2 separate regions of the Homo sapiens genome follow, and region 1 is linked to region 2. The links are contacts of gene promoters, found by promoter capture Hi-C in blood cells and fetal thymus (Javierre and others, 2016). All regions are on one chromosome and are shown on one strand. Each heading gives the region's core, a stretch centred on a gene start or on the middle of the fragment in contact. The rest is flanking DNA. Distances are from core to core; before and after follow the strand shown.

Region 1 (3,237 bases), core at 211-2,710, 2.5 Mb after region 2:
GCCATGTTAATTGAAGTTTTAAAGTTGCCTTTTAAAATATGTGAACTTGTACAATTTTTTACTTGTTTACATTGGTTCCCTCAATCTTAACGGGGAGGGGAGAGGTTTTTTTCCTCAGTATTATCAAAACATTCGTATCCTGTTGCCTCTGCCTTCCTCATGTCATGTCTGCCCCTTGCATTAACAGATGGGAAGATGAGTTGTAGTGAGGCTAAGTGATTTGTTAAAGGTCATTAGACCAGTTGTTATCAAAAGTTGTCTTCTGTTACTTCTTTGTAGACCACACTGCAGCTACGGTAATGACTCTTAGATCTGATATTTACAGTTGGTCATATTCCCTCTGATAATTCCTTCCAGTTTTTAGGTTGCTGCTGCAATTCTGGTCAGATTGGTTGTTAAATGTGGGACTTTTAGTACTTGCATCAGTGATTAAACAAATAAATACTTAATGAGCCATTCATTACTATATGTTTGGTATTGTTTTACAGCTCCCTTTTCACACTTTCATTGTAGTAGTAGGGAAGAGATGGCAAGGAAGCAAATAAATATAAAACGTAATTTCACATATAGAAATGAACCTATGGAGATGAGAAAATGCTATCCTTACGTACGGCATGCTTAAGGAGGTGAGGTTTGCTCTGAGATTTGAATTGAGAGGAGTCAGCCATATGGAGTCCTTCTGCGTGCAGAAAAGGGAATAGAAAAGGCTAAGGCTTTGAGCCAGGAATAAGCTTGGATGTTGTAGGAACAGAAAATGTCAGGGTGGCTCCAGCATAGTTGGAGTGGTAGGAGATTTTGAGGATAATATATGGAGAGTTAGGTAGGTAATGATTTGTGTAGGGCCTTGTAGGTCATGGGATGGAGCTTGAGTTTTAAGTAAGTTTGATAGGGAGCCATTGGAAGATTTAGAGCCCAAGTTACATGGTCCTATGCAGTGTCTTTATATAAGAAATAGAGTAAGGTGGCAGAGAGGACCAGTTGTGCTGTTTAGTAGCTCTTAGAGGAGATGTTACCGTGGCGTGGACGAGGGTGGTGAGAGTAGAGTTGGGTAGGAGACATACTCAATATGGGATGTCCAGATGGCATCTAGATCAGTGGCTCCCACATGTAGGTGTTTTTAAATGTTGATGATGGTGTTTTCAATGGTCTGCAGTGGAAACTTTAAATGAAGATGCATTTCTTTTAAATAAGACCATTCTCTTTCTAGTATTTTTTAAATTTCGAACATCCATAAAATTGTAAAGAAAGAATTGTACAGTACATTTTAACATATTTGCTTGTTACAATCTATACATTTTATGTTTTTTAACCACTTCAAAGTAAGTTTCAGACACCAACACATTTTTTAAATGATCCCTACCATTTTTTAAATGATCCCTACCAAAATGGAAGGCTGGTATCCCAAGGTTTTGTTCCATTTCTCAATTCTAGTCTGTGAAATTGAAGTCTGATGACCACTCTTAAGAGGGCTGTTCATTAGGGTGCGGGCTGGGCATTATGAGTGTGTTTTTCATGAGTCAGTGGAAGGAGGGGCTTGTTGTGAGCAGTGCATGAGAAAAACGGCTTGGCTTTGCTTCTTTTTCCAGCTCTGTGGCCTTGGTCAGGTTACGTCTCTTCAGTATCGTAACTGTAATGTGGAGATAAAGCCTTCATTAGTTAGGGGCACACACCGCAGTATTCCTTAAGTCATCTTGATGACAAGTGAATGCAAGGCAGCTGGTACCTTTCAGGTAGTAGTTGAATTCAGGTAGTATTTGTTCAGTTTTTTTTTTTTCCCTTCATGTTCTAAGACCAGCTTGAGAGGCAAAGGTTGTACCACTGAGCTCTAGTTGTTGTTACCTAAAAAGGCCTTGTTTTAAATTTCTGTGATACCTAAGAATTTCAAATCTGGGTTGTCATGGATTCTTTATTCTTTTTTTCTCCCTTAAAAAGTTACATTTTAGATGAAATCCCCTTTTTTAAAATGGGCAAAGCAATAATTCTACATCATTTCTCCCCTTCCCTTCCACTTGTTTAGACTAAGATATGTTAGAGAGGGAAAGGGTCGTTGTTTTAGTAAATACTATTGCTGTTGACATGTTAATACTATTGCTGTTGACATGTTTACTGATGGGCTGTGTTCCATAATTTTGTTTTAGGTCTTTTGTTTGAAACAGTTTACTGTTTTTATCAGTTTTGGTCCCTAATTTTTCCTAACCTACAGTTTTTCTCTGAGTACATATGGTTTCATTGTTTGATCTACTTTCTATCTATCTGAATATGAACTTCTAGGATCATGTTTATTCTAGTAGATGATGACTTAAAGCCTGCAGTATAGGAGGGACAACGTCAACTACTGCATGTGCAATAACAAGCTTGAAGGGAAGCTAAATGTTTGTTACAAATTTAAGACAGTATTTTAATGCCGTTTGCATTTTTCTAAGAATTTTCTATAAAGCTAATTCTGTTATTTTTTGTCTCTAAATTAGGGAACTGTCCAGGTTTATTGCTGCCGGGAGACTACACTGCAAAATAGATAAAGTGAATGAAATAGTAGAAACCAACAGGTACTCTCATTTCTCAGAATAAGGGGCATTCCTAAATTTTAAAAGTAGGTCAACTATTGTCATGGAATAATGTGACTGGTAAATAATTCATTTTTTCTTGAATTTATTTATAGACCTGATAGCAAGAACTGGCAGTACCAAGAAACTATCAAGAAAGGAGATCTGCTACTAAACAGAGTTCAAAAACTTTCCAGAGTAATTAATATGTAAAGCCATGTAACTAACAAAGGATTTGCTTTAGAGATAATTATTTGGAATTTTTATAGCTTACTTCACAATGTGCCCAGGTCAGCTGTATAAAATAAATACTGCATTGTTGTTTCTTTCCATTTATTTTTTTCTTAAACACATAGGCCTTCTAGAATCGGGTCCACTTATGTTAAAATAATGTCACTTGAATTATTCATTAATGAAAATCTGGTTTATAGGGTAAGGTTGCAGCTGGGTTCAGCTAGGTTCAGCTCCTGACTGCCTCATCAGTAAAATACGTCAGTAAAATACGGATGTTGACACAGCCCATTATCGCTTACCTTTAAATCTCTTACCTGTAAGCTTCCCGATTTTAGAAAGAAGAGTAGTGGCCTAAAATTAAACAAACAGTGTCTCCCACTTTTAGTATACAAAAGATAGAAGATAAAGAAAATGTGTAATAAGCTTTCCCTCAGAAACAAGTAACCATATAAGGCAGGAA
Region 2 (2,912 bases), core at 267-2,766:
TACTCCACTTCAGTTTCCTTTTCTGTAAAATGGGGATAATTGTAGTGCCGACTTCCTTAAGCTTGTTATAAGGAAAAAAATGAAATATTTAACACAGGGCCTAACACACAAGCAGAAGCTTGAGGAAGGGTAGCTATAATGTTATTATTATAACTGTCGCAATAATAGTGTACCTTTCTGCAGCAGGATATATCTGTGTTAACTGATCATCACCATCTTAACTCTATGAAAAATATTGTCTCTGTTGTATACATGAGGCCCAGAGTAGTTGAATGACTTGTTTAGAGTCTAGCACTTGCCAGTTAGAATTCAGACCTGCGTGTACATGTTTAGAAGAAAATACGGTAAGACTAGCACTGCCTTCTTTCTGGCCTCCCTTTGACGTCTCTGAATTCCTGGAGGCCGATTGGTCTTTGGTGGCTTGAAGCACCTAGTGTAGTTCTGGCTGTACAGCTGGTGCTCTATACATGGTGTCTTGAATGTGATCTTGAAGAGCGTGTTTCTTTGTTGGTAGGCGTGTGTGTCAGATCCATTTTTGGTTTGCCTGTTTGGTAAAGGGGGTGGTAACATGCACATATGTTTTGCCATCTGTTGTTTATTGTTTCTGTTAGGTTGTGGTTTGTGTTCCTGTTCCATGTTCCTTTGGTTTCTGGAGCAACTGCGAATATTATATGCTTGGGGATCAAAAAAAGTAAACTATTTATAAACAGTAAAGTATCCTTGGGTTTGGAAAGTGTTTTTCTCAAATGCGTGTATATTTGTTGGCTTTATGATCATCTCACTGATGAATCGTTAGATAATTTGCAGACTGAGACACATCTAAAAGATGGGCGAGTCATGGTCCAGCCTTGTGTAACCAGCTCACAGACAGCCTTGGTGATAAGGCCCTGGTGTTAACGCTGACCCGAGTGGTGTATTTTTAACTCAAGAACATATAAACAGTTTAGCCTGCTGATGGAGTTTATGCACCGCCTGAAATCTTTGGCATGCCTTGGATTTGTGGCTCTGTAAGATGTACGTAGTCCTGGGAGAGTGCTGTGGCCGCCAGTGACCCACTGCCCCCACCCTTCATTCAAAAGAAAAGGAATGTAGCAGCAAGATGGAAGGAGAAAGGTGGAATTTATCAATAATTTTGTATGATAATTTTTCCTTTTTTTTTTTTTTTTGAGAGGGTCTTAATCTGTCACCCAGGTTGGAGTACAGTGGTGTGATCTTGACTCACTGCAACCTTTGCCTCACAGGTTCAAGCAATTTTCCCACCTCAGCCTCCTGAGCAGCTGAGGCTACAGGTGTGCACCACCATGCCTGGCTAATTTTTGTATTTTTTGGGGGTAGAGACAGGGTTTCATCATGTTGCCTAGGCTGGTCTCGAACACCTGGGCTCAAGCAATCGCTGGCCTCGGCCTCCCAAAATGCTGGGATTACAGGTGTGAGCCACCATGCCTAGCCTGTAGTATAAATTTTATCTTAAATTTTTTTTGTCATTACTATTTCACTTTGTTATGCAGACTTTAGAGGGAGGAGAGAGCTTTTTACTCACATCTGTTTGCAACCCCTTGCCCCCAGCTGTAGGGGTCTTTGCAGAGTTGCAAATTGGAGCACATGAATCCCATTGTTTAAAGCTGTTACTGTCCACCTGCCCCTCATCGCGCTTCTTACCTGGCCCCACCTGTCCCAGCCACCACGTGGGGCTTTTTAAAAAGACTTTTTAAATACCACCATGTCCCATGTCCCTCACCCACCATTTCCTCTGTCTGGAGAATGGGTCTTCCCTCTTCGCCTTGCAGATTTCTGTTCATCTGTCTTAAACGTTTCTCCCCATAGAAACCATGGCTGACGTTCCCTTTAAGTTAGATTCCCATCGTGAGGATTCTGCAGTGCTATGTATAGAAGTTTTGTGTGAATGTTTGATTCGTTTCTGACTACCCCATTAGTCTGTAAGCTCCCTGAATGCAGTGACTGGCTTTGTTTCCAATCCACCATTGTATTCCCAGAATCTAGTGTGAAGCCTGTGACACATTAAATGCTCGTGACAGATACCAGTGTAGATAGAGATAGTGGCATTCATTCTGTAGAGTCCTGTATGTCCTGTGGAAATACCTCTGCCAGATAGAATAATTCAGACCTCCCAGGCTTCATCTGTGTATTTCCTGAATATACCTTGCTTGTTTAGTAGCTTCCTATACCCCTCACCACCCTCCACCAAAGTCTCTTAAGTGTTGAGAAACTTAGAAGAATGGAAAGAAAGAAGAAACAAATAGAACCGAAGTTGAAAAGATGACAGGCTGTTTACCTGCCACATTTAGAATTGGCGGTCTTTTTGGTCTCTCTGAATTTTGGAAAAGTCCCATATGCAAGAATTGTCACTGAAGTGGCTTTGTAGTTAAAGCAGTGCATGTGAACTGTCCCCACATGAGGTCCTCGGGCGCCTCGTCCCTGCTGGATTGCTGGTGGCTGTCCTTGGCAGGTGGGCCAGGCTCAGGCGCTCTCCTCTGTGTTGCGTTTGGCGAGGGAGCCCGCGGTGCCCTTCCCAGCTGTTGACATGGTCTCTCATCTGCTCTTTTGCTGGAGCCGCGTTTTGGAGCCTGCTTTTCCAGAGTTGACACTGCAGGGGAGGGTGGCTTCTTCCATAGACCGAGGCTGTCTAGACACCCTTCCCCTTGTGGTTATTCTGCTCAGTTTATGCTGAGCCCTCGCCAGGCAGCTGGTTTCGGTTGCTTGAGCTCTTACTTTGCTCAGGCCTCTGCTTTGACAAAAAGGATGACCAGGCCAAGGTAGCTTTTCTCCCTCTTTGCTGCTGGCAGAGAGAAAGACTGCTTTCCTTGACCAGAGGGAGCTGTGAGAACACTAAGGACAGGTTACCCTGCCCTCTGTGGACCCAGCCCAAGTAACTATGTAAATTGATAGAAGCT

Evidence for each region. Contacts are between HindIII fragments. The CHiCAGO score rates a contact against its expected background, and 5 or more counts as called.
Region 1: the fragment with the promoter of PSMD6-AS1 here is called in contact with a fragment that was not itself captured in region 2 in 1 of 17 cell types (activated CD4 T cells); the score reaches 7.4 in activated CD4 T cells.

The regions. Positions count from the first base shown.
Region 1 is chr3:64,010,187-64,013,423 of GRCh38, reverse strand. It overlaps PSMD6-AS1 (PSMD6 antisense RNA 1), which reads right to left and starts at 1,460. Exons shown (of 2, transcript NR_189168.1): 1 at 1,382-1,460. PSMD6 (proteasome 26S subunit, non-ATPase 6) reads left to right here. Exons shown (of 8, transcript NM_014814.3): 7 at 2,469-2,546; 8 at 2,660-2,873. The coding sequence ends at 2,756. PSMD6-AS2 (PSMD6 antisense RNA 2) reads right to left here. Exons shown (of 3, transcript NR_038286.1): 3 at 1,181-1,627. The HindIII fragment of the contact is 1,623 bases long and covers 734-2,356 here.
Region 2 is chr3:66,483,410-66,486,321 of GRCh38, reverse strand. All of the region lies in intron 1 of LRIG1 (leucine rich repeats and immunoglobulin like domains 1), which reads left to right. Among named protein-coding and RNA genes, the nearest start is that of LRIG1, 16 kb to the left of the region's middle. The HindIII fragment of the contact is 2,792 bases long and covers 121-2,912 here.